Linked DNA regions of Homo sapiens: regions 1 and 2 are each linked to region 3. Evidence: promoter capture Hi-C in 16 types of primary human blood cells and fetal thymus (Javierre and others, 2016). All regions are on one chromosome and are shown on one strand. Each heading gives the region's core, a stretch centred on a gene start or on the middle of the fragment in contact. The rest is flanking DNA. Distances are from core to core; before and after follow the strand shown. Region 1 has its middle 26 kb from the start of LINC00954. Region 2 has its middle 8.4 kb from the start of LINC00954. Region 3 holds the start of OSR1 (odd-skipped related transcription factor 1).

Region 1 (4,119 bases), core at 1,161-3,660, 480 kb after region 3:
TTGTCCCACAGAGCTGGAGAAAGCCTGGGTTCTTGGGTCAGATTCCCCAAAATAGGCCCTGAAATGAGAGTTTGCATTCAAGTGATTTCTTAAGGAAGTCTAACTGGGAGAAACTGGTAAGAACAGAGAAGGAAAGAAAGAAAGTGAGTTTGATCGTAGGCAGAGACCCACAGAGGACACTCTGAGTCCGATCCTGCTGTAAGACTCCTCAGGATTGACAAACCTTCAGCAAAGGCTTTCATAACCCCTCCCCTCACAGTCACTGGTCCAGGGGAGAGGTAACTGCCCACTCATTTCTGGCTTCTATGCAAAGTAAAGCAGCACCAGTAGCCCAAGGGTATGAGGGAAGTCCTTCAAAGAAGAGCTGCAGGCTCCAAGTGCTGGGGATTGGAAGCAAGAGCATACCCAAGACAGCGGTGCACAAAATGGACAGGGCCAAGGGGAGTGGTGGTGCACTGTCATTGCATCAAATAACAGCATAACATCATAGGGTGACCCAACTAAAGCCAAGCTGGAATTCACAGTCTTTCTGGCCACATGAGTAGAAGTCTGGTCATTGCTCTTGGAATCTGTTTAAATGAGCTGGTATACACGGAAGCTTTTTAGGAGTGAAGGGATGCAGAGACTCCTGGGGAGACAGATAGTGTAAGGAGGGGAATGGGAACCATACCAGGGAATGGTATGGTGACTGTCTCTCCCTCCAGCCCAAGACAGGGGTTCTGGATCTCTGTCACTTGTAGCCAGAGTTCTAAGTAACACACTTTATCAGTTTGCTAGGAGGGGTATAATGAGCGAATGGATGAAAAAAGTCTTCATAAATAACAAATGTTGTATTACTTCCAAGTCACATTTGATGGTCTGGAAAAAACACTGAAGGGTACACATAATGGTCACTCAGTGAATATCTATTAAATGAATGAATCAAACTGGCTGAAGGAGGAGGAGGAAGAAGAAAAAAAGGGAGAAGAAGAGGAAAAAGGAGGGAAGGAAAGAAGAATAAGAGTGGGTAAGAGGAAAAAGAAGGAAGGGAAGGGAAGGGAAGGAAAGGGAAGGGAAAGGAAAGGAAGGGAAGGAGGGAGGGGAGGGGAGGGGAAAGGGAGGAGAAGGAGAAACCCACACACAGAACTCACTGTATCTGAAAATTCTAGGGATAGGTCTAAATTCAGGCATGGCTGATTCAGGCCCTCAGAAGCTGTGGACAGGACCGTATCTCTCACCAAACTTTGGCGCTGCTTGTCTCTGTGTCGCCTTCATTCTCAGGCTCTGTCTGAAGTAGCAATGCTTCCACCAGTGGCTCTCAGTGAACATCCTACCAGCTTAGCACCCTCATGGCCCTTTCCTCATAGCTCCAATAGAAGTTCCATGATTGATTCTGATTCACTGACTTGAGCCATCTGCCCATTCTTGAACCAATTACTGTGACCAGGGAGATGGAATAAGCAGATCGGCCAGCCCTGGGTCACACGTTCACTCTGGAGCAGCTTACAGGTGGGTGGGGGTCGGTTGCTGGTCCCACCTGAACTGCATGAAATGAGCATGGGGGAAGGGGATTTCGCCCAAAGGAGAGCTGGGGTGCTGCTTGTTGAAGTAGAAAAACGAGGTGCTGGACATGCAAAAATCACAGTCTCCTACGTTCCTGTGTGATACCAAGACTGCTTCTGCAGCAGAAAAGGCAGAAAGAAGGGTGGGCCCTTAACTTCCATAAGCGATGCACTCTTAGATGTCTATGAACTATAGAGTCAAGGAAATTCAAATGTTTGTACCAGATCCAGGCTTTCTCTTGAATCACAGGTAACTGTTTTTCCAACTTCCATTAGTTTTCTCTCATTTGGGGAGCCATTTTGAACCATTAGAGAAGCTGTTAAAATGGTTTCAGGAGATGCCTGGTGTTTTCTTATAGAACTCCTGGTAAATTCATTTACACCATTGGAGTGAGTCCCTGCTGAATTCAACATTCCTTCTTCTAATTTGTCCAAAACTTCAAACGCTCATTTTCTTAACCCACCCAGTTTCTCTATACATCTATCTCCAGCAATAGTTTTTGGCATTCTTTAATGGTCATTCCTTTTCCCACTGGAACCAAGTGTTGAATCACCTCATAGCAGTTACAGTGTCCATGACGATGAACAGAGAATGTGAAAGTGGCTCTGAGGTGTGGGCAGCTTGCTGAGTGCTAAAGGTCTCTGAGAGAGACTCCTGTGGCCTTTGCCTCTGAGGATCTACTCACCCTTCTGCTGATAAATGTATTCTCTCCTCCACTCTTAGATCCTAGGTTTTGGTGGAGCTTCTCACCATAATTAGGGCTGGAGCCTATAATGTAAGCCTAAAAACCAACTAGATTATCACAGCTCCCCAGTCACAACAATTAATTTGGGACTCAGTCAGAAATAATGAGAGGCAATGAGACACTGGCAGAATTTTCTGGGAAAGAGACCGCTGCTATTAATATTTCCTGCTGGACTTGAATCTGAGGGAATATCAGGTTGGGAGCTAAGGCTGCCATTTAGTACCCTGAGAGACGGATCTGGCCTCCAAATGGAGTCAATCCAGAGGAAGTGGAGTTGAAGGTGAGGAAGAGGGAGAGACGAGAGAGAGGCTAGACCCTGGTGACATTGACTGAGTGAAGTGCCACCTGAAACCAGCCCAACCTCTGCCTTTTAAGAGAAGTGAGTTGATAAGTTCTCTTTTTGCTTACCCTGGTTTGTGCTGGGATTTCTCTCCCTGGAGAGCAAAAGTTACCAAGTAGATGCAACCCTATTGTATTTCAATACCCTCTCAGTCCCCACCAGCCCATGGGTTGACATCTGGTCACATTAACAACAGCACAATGGAGGCTCTTAGCTTCCATGCACTGCACATGGACTCAGCACCCCTCCAAGTCTCTCTCTCTTATTTCTTAGTGAAGATTTCACCAGTGGGTGTCTTATATGTTCAGGAACAATTTTGGTCATGTTCTTTCCTGACATTCTCTTATAAAATGACTGTGGCCAGAGGAGTGGGATGAGACCACTGACCTCATTCTGATCATGAGCAGGGCTGGGAGGAGAGTGAGTACAGCTGGCAGCCTCCATGAGGAGCACTCAATTCACATGGAGGAGAGGCCATCCATGGAGAAGAAGGGAGCACTATTGCCAGAAGAACAGAGAAGAGCGAGCTAAACACACAAACAAGGGGGCCCGCCATGGGTAGAAGGGCAAGAAGTGCTGAGACCACCCACTGATGAGGACAGGAAGGCCTGGGGGAGGGAACACATGTGCCAGTGGTCACTGGGTGAGAAGGTAGTGGGGCTCAGACTCAAGCCCAGGGGACCAGGGTGCTCCCCCTGCTCACCCATGCCTTTGCTGGAGAGCCATGAACAGTTTAGCAAGGGTCAGGAATGTGTGAAAGTTCACACTGCCAGTTCTGCCCAATCCACAGTCAAGTTCAAGTGTATTCCTGGATGGGGAGCAAAGGCAAGATCTGTCTGACAACACCAATTTCCCCCAACCTGAGTGCCAGCCCCCAAGGCTCCCTGCAATATAAACTGCCATGGAACACTGGCCTTAGACCCCTGCAGGCTTCCTACCCTCAGAAACAGCCATTCTATGGAATTACAATGTGGGGCAGGCTTGATCCAAACACTCCTGACTCACTGCATTGCAGCCATGCCCTGTGGGCTCTGATCACACAATTCTCTCACTCTTGATGAGCTTATTCCCCTGCTCCTTCATACTTTCCTCTCTCCCATCATCCCGGAATTCCCTTGCTCATTTCTATAATCTAAAGTCTTTCCTCTTCTTTCTCTAAGATTTTTCTTCTTCAAACCCCACCCCAACGTTCAAATCTGAGACTTCTCAATAGAAAGAACCCCAAATTGGAAGCAGGAGGCATGGGCGAAGGAGCCAACCCTGGTGCTGCCTCCTTGGATGACCTTGAGCCAATTCCCACACCTCTCTGGGCTCCAGCTTGCTCTTTCCAAGGCATTGCAGGCAAACGCTGGGATTCCCCATGTCATCTGGCCCACTATGAGCACAAAAGATGCCCCGTCTTCCACCACCCCTGACCCCAAGCCTCTGTCCCTCACACCAGGGCTGCCTTCTGTCCCCAGGTTAGACCTGAATGATGGGAAGAGATGTTCTT
Region 2 (4,362 bases), core at 290-2,789, 500 kb after region 3:
GAAGGGGCTTGAGGCTTTCCTTATCTATCCCAGCAACCAGCACCTGTGGGGCCCCTGGCTCCAAAGGCTGGGCATGGATGTAGGTGAGGAGGGACATTGTTCTGGAAGGAATGGAGGCATGCAGCTCAATCAACCTCATCCAGAGCAACTTTGCCAGAGGCAAGGTGGATTCTTACCACTGTAAGAGCTCCTCTCCGGTCTCGGTCTCGGGAGAGTTGAGTCTCTGAGCTGTTTATGTAGCAGAAAGACACTTAACCACAGGCAGGGCACACGGGAGACCTGAGAGCATCCTCTGAAAGCCATTGTCTGGAAATGCAGGCTCTGTCCTCCAGAAACGTGCCCTGCACACTCTTCAGAAATGTGGGCAAAGCTCCCTGAGGAAGGCAGCCTCAGGGCTTCGTTGGCTGAGAGCAAACACTAAGTCAACTTGATCTAAGTTGTTCTCCTCCAAGCTTCAGTTTCTGCCATCTGAAAATCTTGTTTGGAGTTTGAAACAGGGCAGAAGCGGAGACACGGGGATCCCAGTGGAGGCACGAGATGGACCAAGGGCTCTGCACTTGCGGAGAGGCCCTGGCCAGGTGCGCCCAGCCCTCACCCCTAAACCTACCTGGTGTGAGCCACCAACAGATCCTCAGGAGGGAAGCTGGTAGCCCCGTCAGGCCGCCCAGGCCAGGATTCCTGAGAGGCAGCAGCCAGAGCTATCTCTAGAAGTGGCGCTTCCTGTCTATCCCTCCATACACAGGGCAGCAGACAAAGCTGAGCCCTCTGCTGAAATGAACTGAGCCAAATGCTGATCTTTATTTGGGGGGCATCTTGTAAAAATATTAGATCCAATTGATGCTCTGCTCATGAACAAGCTACAAAGGTGACCTTGGAGGGACTTTTCTCCCACAGGCCAGGAGCAGCGACAGCAGCGGCTCTCACCTTCACCACCTGGCTGCGCTGCATGCAGGAGGGGCCCAACAACCCACGTGAAGGAAAAGGAGGTAGGAGAGCCACTGGATCCTGAGCCCCGCCGGAATCCGTGGCCCATGGCGCCACTGGGAAAGATCCAAGGACCACACGCCCAGTGTCCAGCAAGCCTCAGCTCCTCCAGTGGGCATTTCCAGAATCCCCAAGGCTGCCCGAGAGCCCCTTCACTTCTGCTGTTAATACACAGATGTCATGAAATGCTGGGTGACCTCTAAGGAAGGGATCCGTGCACCCACACTGCAGACGCAGGGGAGCGGCCACAATGGTAACAAGTGGGTGGGCAGGACTGTAGCCCATTTCTCCTGCCTCGGCCAGTGTTCTTTCTCACACTAACCACAAGTGTGCATGCACACGCACATACACATAGGCACACATGCTCACACGCATAAGTACATGCTCACATGCACACACACACACAGGCTCTCTGTGAGCAACAGGTCCACGCACTCCCTGGTAACCGGTTACCCGCAGCTGCAGGCTTCTAGAAGAACAACCACTCCCTGGGATTTTCCTGGGAGGGGAGACGTAAGATCGAGGTTTGGATCCCCACACTCACCACACTCACCACACTCAGATCGCCTTGTTGCCGTGTAACCGCAGTCCTCTGACCCTTGATGACTCTCAAAACCGTTCTTGTCATATAATACATGAACTATGCATAAACAATTCTGGGTTATGATGTGTTTCCTAAAACTAAGAGAACTTCAGCCATAACACTGACATTTTGTTTCTGGAAATTAAACCCTGGGAACAGTGAAAATAAAGTCCCTCAATTTATGAATTGTATTTCCGTACATACTTCAATTCCCAGTGCTTGCGGTGAAAGAGAAACACGATTGTGTTTCTGATGGCGTAGCCACTAAGACCAGAGGGCCTGCCCCTCCTAGGTTCTCCACTTCATACCAGGAAGCCAGGCTCTCCAAATAAGGTCCTCACTAACAACCTGGGTGACCTAATACTTCAGGAAATGACGAGAATAAACCCAAGCAAGATGGATTTGCCCATTGCTCTTGGGAAACAGTCACCTCCGCCTCTGCCCTGTTCCTGGCAGGAAGGGGCAAATGCCTGGGAGATGCTGAGACAAGTTTGCCAAGGCCTTGGCAGAGTCCCCAGGCTGGCATCTCAGTATGAACCTTGCCAGTCCTGGGACTTCTGCAGGCAGAAAATGTGCACCCCCAATGCCCAGCAAACTGTGGGCCCTGCAGATGTGTGCTGGGCTATGAACAAGGGTTTGGGGGAGGTTGAATGATTATAATTGCCAAGTGAGGCGAAGATGGATCGGATTCTGGTGCAGAGAGGAAGGTTGAGAGAAATGGAGGAAGGTGAAACCAACAAGAAGTGTCCGGACACGCTAGCAGGATTTCAGCATACAGAGCTAACAAGATGCGGGGGTGAGATACACATACAAGCTGGAGAGAATGGGGGCATGGGCAAAGGTGGGGGGCCAGAGAGGCTTGGAGTAGAGAGGGAAGAGTGGGAAGTTCAGTCAGATGCAAGCCCTGGAGATGAGCAAGGGAGTTGAGAGGTGCGGACGTGGCCCCTAACATGAGTACATGTCAGGTGTGTTATTTCCCTGCATTGACTGCCCTCCTTCTCCTTCCTCCAGGACAAACCCTCCATCCCCACTGGCCCTGCTCAAACTCCGCCTCCTCCAGGAAGCTTTCCCTGAACTGCTCAACCGGCAATGAACTTCTTCCTCCCTTCTCTAATTTCTATAGCACACCTCAGCCATCAGTTCAGGGCCACCACAAGGTGTGCACAGGCATCTCACAAGTTTGCAGAAATGCCTTCGTAGACTGTGTTCTTCTGGAAGAAAGATCACTTTGTACACATGTACCTCCCTGCAGTGTGGCTTAACCCAGGTCCAGGCACACCAAGACTTCAGGAGGGGCCCACAAACTCAGAGGGAGGCTGGCATGGGAGCAGGACAAACCATCCAGCCCCACACCCACCCCAGCCCCTATCCATGACTCCACCAACCAGGACTCTGCCTGCCTTCCCAGCCCTTGGCACAGGAACCCCAGCTTCTAGCACCTTCTCCAAGGCTCCTGCACCCTGCCTGGAAGGCAGCCCCTCGCCCCCAACCTCCTCCCAGAACTCTTCAGTTCCCCACACCACCAGCCTTCCACAGCTGAAGGCCATAGCTCATTAAAGCCAGACGTGTAGTGCCCCGTGCCACATTTCCTGGGCCTCAGCACTTCCACAGAGCCCCACTGCCAGGAGGCCACATATTCAGCCCCAGGGGCAACCTGTCTGGTCAGGGAGGCTAAAAGCAGCCCTATCACAGCGAATGAGCAAGCCCACTCTTACAAAACCAGAGTGGAGCCATGGGGGCATGGGGAGAAGAGGCAGGGAGTGCTGGGCAGGGCTCCCATCTTGGTCCTTCCTACTGAGGAGGGAAGTGGGAAAGTGGGCTCAGGCTACCACTGTCAGTGGGGATGGTGGGGGTGGCCTCCAAAGAGGACACCTGCCTGTGCAGAAGCCAGAGCCAGTCCTGGGCCCCTGAGTCAGCAGCAGAGACACAGAAAGAAAACATGCTAACTTGTTAACTGAGTGACTTGTAATGGGGACAAACATTCACATTACAAAATAATCTCCATTTGGCAAAAGGGCCTCTTTAGGAATTAACAAACTCCTCTTTGAACATGTAAGTGTCCTAGAAGAGCTAAGTGAGGCTGTTCCCTGGAATCACACTACCCAGGTGTTAGTCACTCACCCCTTAGTGTGAATCAGCTTGATCAGGCTGTTTTCCTGCTGCCTTCTGCTAGAATTCAACTTTCTGAAAAAATAGATCTGTTTGGGAAGTGATGCAGGCTGGGTCATTTTGGAACACAGAGCACAATACGAGTCTTGGAAGCAGTGGGGAGAGAAAGAGGAGTTGTTCAGCCAGAGGGCCAAGTAAGGAGACAAAGGAAAGCTGGGGGTCACAGTGGGAGGCTCAGGAGGGCAGAGTCCAGGGGCGGGAGCAGCCCCCCAGGCGTGGGCACTGGATTTGCTTGCTGGGGCTGCCGCAACAATGCCACACAGACGGAGCAGCTTAAACAGCAGACGTGCACGGCCTCTTGCCTCCTGCCGTGTCCAGTCTCCCCGCTTTCCAAGGACACCTGTCACGTTGGATTAGGGGCCCACCTGACTTCACTATGACTTTGCCTTAACTAACTACATCTTCAACCACTGTATTTCCTTATTTGAAATTCTTTATTTCCTTATTTCATCACATTCTGAGGTACTGGGGTTTAGAACATCAACATGCGAATTTGGGGGTATCATGACTTAGCCTGTGATCAGCACCTTTTCTGGGGTGAAACTGAGGCAGAGGAGACCTCAGCCCCAACCAGCCGAGTAACCCTGAGCAAGCCATTGTCCTGTGTGACCTCAGGTGACTCACCT
Region 3 (4,311 bases), core at 916-3,415:
TCTTTACACTAGTATCAAGAATGGGCCGAAAGCACGATCCGGTTTCAGGAGGTCGGTTAAGAGAAAAACACAGTCTCACCCTAGCCTCTCCAGCCAGAAAGGATGAGTGAGCCCCCGGCTCCTCCGGCTCCGGTTTCCCAGACCGCGGAACCCCAGGGCGAATACTTTCGATCTTTAAACACAGGATGGAAAACCCTTCCCCAGGCTAGGCACCCATTCCTCAAACAGCTTGGGCCTCAGGACCTGCGGGAAAGAATAAGGGGACCCGACCACGCACAGCAGACGCAATTCGCGCTCGGGATCCCGAGTCCCTGCGCAGTGCGGGCACTCGCGTCCCTCGCGCGGTGGAGCGCCAATCCCAGGTCTGCGGCCAGTCCTATGCTGGGCATTAATGAAGTGTGCAGAGTCTATTAAAGTGGTTTATTCGGGGCTAATTGAGCGTGAGCAAGTTAACTGCTTGCATTAATGAGAACGGGAGCGAACTCCACGAGTTTGCGCCTGGGGGAGCCCAGCAGCAACCCAAGAAAATCAGCCTTGACATCGAATCTCCAACGAGTGGTGACAGGCGTCCGGACCCCCGTGAAGAGGACTGACCGGCACCGGATACTTCTATAGCATTCTCCCAACAAACGAGATCTAACGAACCCATTGGCAAGGCGGTCATCCGGCTGCACTTAAATGTCCGCTGCGTCCTCGGTGATCCATTCCCCAATCTTAATAAAACAGCAATTACCTCGAGGAGCCTGGGATGGAACATCTACACGCCGCCGGTCGCTGCTAGTCCCCTCCAGCGCTTCTCTTCCCTAGGGGGTTGTGAACCTGGGACACCTAGCCTTGCACGTGGTTTTGTTCCGCAGAGCCAATGCGCAGCTCTTAGCCTGGGTGAAATTTACCAAATTGTGGCAACAAAGAAACCCTTGCGGCTACTTTACACATTGAGAACCCAACCCGCTACTGCCTGAGCTGCTGAAAAAGGACTAAACGTGGTTTTTCATTCTTCTCCGAGACATTTCCGAGGAGAAATTAGTTCAGCAGGCAGCCCTTCACCCCTTTCCCCCTTCTTTCTCTCCTGACGGCTGGATTAGCGGACAGTCAGGGGAGTAACAGAACTTTTCCTGTCCCCAGCCCGGAGACCCTAGGGCTCCACAGAGTTTCCACTAGTGCTGTGTGTGGGTCTCGAATTGGAAAGCAGTGCTTGCGCCCACTGCATTGCCTCCCTGCACCAGGACAATCAAGGGTTCCGCTCCAGGCCTTGACGACACAGAGCAATCATCCTATGGAGAATATCCCTAAGTTAGAGCGCGAGTGCAAGGCGGGGTTCAGACTCGCAGCCCTGCGCTCTCGGGTCTAGGCGGCCTCATACTAGAGCGCAACTCCTCAAAAGACAAACTTGAACGAAAGCGCTACCGAGCTGGGGCATGCACCTGTCCCTGGCGCGGTCGGCTGCGGCTGTGGCCATTCACTCCCTCTCCCTTCCTTCTTCGTCAACCTGGGCGTCAGCCAGAGCTAGGAGCGCGTCTCAGGAAAGTTTGTGCCCGCTGAAGTTGCTCTGGTTTCTTAAAGGGGGCCCACAGATTGACTTTCAAAGTCCGTGGGCACCTCGCCCGTGATTCCGCAGAGCCGGGCGGGCTGGCCGCAGTAGCGGAGGCCCGCCCCCCTTAATCCCCAGCGGTCAGAGGCCGAGGACCCCGCGCAGGAAGTCCTGAGGCAGCACCCCCAACCACCCTGCTCTCACTTTCACAAAAGTCCTACAGCATTCGTTTGGCAAGAGCTTCCTTCAGGGGCATTGAGAGAGAGGAGGCACCCGCCGAGCAGTGACAAGGAACCTGGGAGTCCTGCCCGCATTCGCTTTGCTGAGCCCAGGCGCCCAGGACTGCAATTACCTTGTTCCGCAGAGGTCCTGGGGCTGAGCACGTCTCTGGGGCTTTAGCTGAAGGGGACTGGGGAAGCCGGAGGCCCTGGAGCCCACAGGCGCCCCTGGAGCTCTAGTGTCCCGACTCCTCTCCTGCCGCGGGGACTCCAAGCGCCGGACACGCGGGAGCGAGCGCTCAGCAGCCCCGGATCCTGCACGCCGGGGACGGTGAGCCTCGCTCGCGGCTCCCTCGCTGGGTCTGAACCAGGAGCAGCTGAGAACGTGCCGGGGAGAGGCCGAGCTCCGACTCACTCATCCCTTAGCACCGAGCCGCCTACTTATTTTAATCCACCACCCTCCCTCCTCCACCACCCCCACCCCCGCCCCTTGCCTCAGGATTCCTCCCCTCCCTCCCCTGCCCCCCAACCCTGCCCTGCGCCTGCGCAATGAAAGACAAAGTTTTTGCTGACCCGGGCAGCAGACTTTGGCAGCTGCTCTCGCTTGGACCCGGCCTCTCCCAACCTGCGTCCCCTCCTCTTCAGTCCCGCGCGACCCCTGCTGCCTTTTTAGGTCCAGAGCGGCACGCCTGGCGCACTGGAGGAAACGGTCCCTAGCAGATGAGAGCGGGCTGGCACCGCACGTTTCGAGGTCCTATACTTGGGCTCCTAGGACACAGCCCGTGCTCTTTGGGAGGAGGGAGGGAGGGGCAGTAGCTCTGTGCACCGGGATCCCCACACCGCGGCTTGGGTTTCAACGCACTTTGGCGCCTGACAGAGTCGCATCTCCTCCCAGAATCTCTTTCCAGAGGCGGCAGACCCCGAGTGTGGAGCAGCTCCTGGCTATCCAAGCGTGCTCGGGGCCAGGGTGTTAACCCAGGCAGCGCTGGTTAATTCCTGGTGCGGGAGGGCCAGGGTCACCGAAGCAAGCGAGCTGTAACATCTGAGTGCTTATGGTTGACCCCAGACCCTAAGTTCTGGAGTCCAGTAGAAAGAACAAAGAGTAGGGAAAGGAGGTCAGGAAAGTTATTTTCCTGGGGCCCAGAACTCTCTGAGATTTCACCCCAATGCACAGTGGCACTCTCTACTTACATATTTGTTTTAGGATGGATCAGAGTTTAGAGAGCCGCACTGGCAAGCTAGACGAGCTGCAAAGTTGTCAGTTCCAGGGCCTCTGAGTCAAGGAGCTGGTTCAGGTGGAGTTTTTAATCGGAAAGGAATCAGAGTTCTGGACATTAAAAATTCTATCTTCATTGCCTAGGCATTATGGAGGGTACCATCACCCCCTTGACTACCCATCTCTGAAAGCTGACCTCCGGCTGACCCCAGCCCAATCCCTCCCTAATGCCTTTCTGGAATACCCTTCCAGGCCTTGGGTTTGGCAAGGAGGAGTCACTGGTTTCCTGGGACTTGTGTGGGTCCAGATCACACAACTGCACTCTCTGCCTTTGCCCCAGAGTTGCTGCTGAGTGACTCTTGGAGCTGGATCCTAGATTCCGTGGGTCCCTAAGTACTGTACTGCTTCTCTCCCGAGGAGCTTCTGCTATCTCCAGCTTTGGTTTGCAAAGCTAATCTGATTTTCTTGGGAGGTGAAGAAGGTTGTAATACCTGACCTAGGGAGATGGTAATGAAGACTCCCCTCCCTCAAAGGCATAGTTGAAAGAGGATTTCCTTATATCCCCAGGCCTTTAGAACAGAATCTAGCCTCTAACCCCTGGGTAACTTCGTCTTGTTTGAGGAGGAGTAAGAGGGGGTGCAATCTTTGCTCCAACGAACAGCTTTTACCCAGTGCCTCAGGTTAGTGCAGAAGTAAGAGATTCACATAAGTTTGTCCATGCTCCTGGAATCTTAGCAGTTGCTAGGATGTAGTGACATTCTTGCTAGAGTAAGAACCCTTGGAAGAGAAGAGAGCTGAGATCACACCTCCTTCCTAGAGATTCCAGAACAGAAAGCTTCAAGGGCAAGGAAAGGCCTGGAGGGAAAGTCTACACAGGGCAATGCTGAACTTTGCTGGCTTCCACCTTGGGCACAGGGAGTGTGCTTGTTCCAGCCTCAGGCTCTCCAAATAAGCAAAGCTTGGGTAACCTCCATTACCAGCAGCAAAAGTTAAGAAGTAAAAAAAATGCCCACACGATAGGGCCTCTGGCTGTCCAGATCACTTAGGAATAGTGGCTGGTCATTCAGGTGGGATGGAACCTCCTGGGGTGTAAATACCCAAACTCCTGCTATGCACCCCTCATAACTCAGCTGGGCTTCTTTTATGTTTCTCCTTGTCTTTCTTTTCTAAAACAGGGCCCTTGGCCAATATGCCTCAGAACTTCCAGAAAGCCCTAAGTAGTAGGATCCCTAAAGAGCTCTCGGAGAGAAAGTGTTCCTGATCTTAAAGAAGAAACATGCAACCGAGTTGTTTCACCACTGCTTTGCCAGATTATCTTGAAAACTGATCCTGACTCAGGTCTCTAG

The links. Contacts are between HindIII fragments. The CHiCAGO score rates a contact against its expected background, and 5 or more counts as called.
Region 1: a fragment that was not itself captured here is called in contact with the fragment with the promoter of OSR1 in region 3 in 2 of 17 cell types (erythroblasts and total CD4 T cells); the score reaches 5.8 in erythroblasts.
Region 2: a fragment that was not itself captured here is called in contact with the fragment with the promoter of OSR1 in region 3 in 15 of 17 cell types (megakaryocytes, naive CD8 T cells, M2 macrophages and 12 more); the score reaches 16.8 in megakaryocytes.

The regions. Positions count from the first base shown.
Region 1 is chr2:19,840,992-19,845,110 of GRCh38, forward strand. No RefSeq gene overlaps it. Among named protein-coding and RNA genes, the nearest start is that of LINC00954, 26 kb to the right of the region's middle. The HindIII fragment of the contact is 3,629 bases long and covers 597-4,119 here.
Region 2 is chr2:19,858,281-19,862,642 of GRCh38, forward strand. No RefSeq gene overlaps it. Among named protein-coding and RNA genes, the nearest start is that of LINC00954, 8.4 kb to the right of the region's middle. RefSeq lists an enhancer at 3,937-4,362. The HindIII fragment of the contact is 2,179 bases long and covers 451-2,629 here.
Region 3 is chr2:19,356,458-19,360,768 of GRCh38, forward strand. It overlaps OSR1 (odd-skipped related transcription factor 1), which reads right to left and starts at 2,166. Exons shown (of 3, transcript NM_145260.3): 1 at 1,884-2,166. RefSeq lists enhancers at 1-844, 1,510-2,038. The HindIII fragment of the contact is 8,359 bases long and covers 1-3,798 here.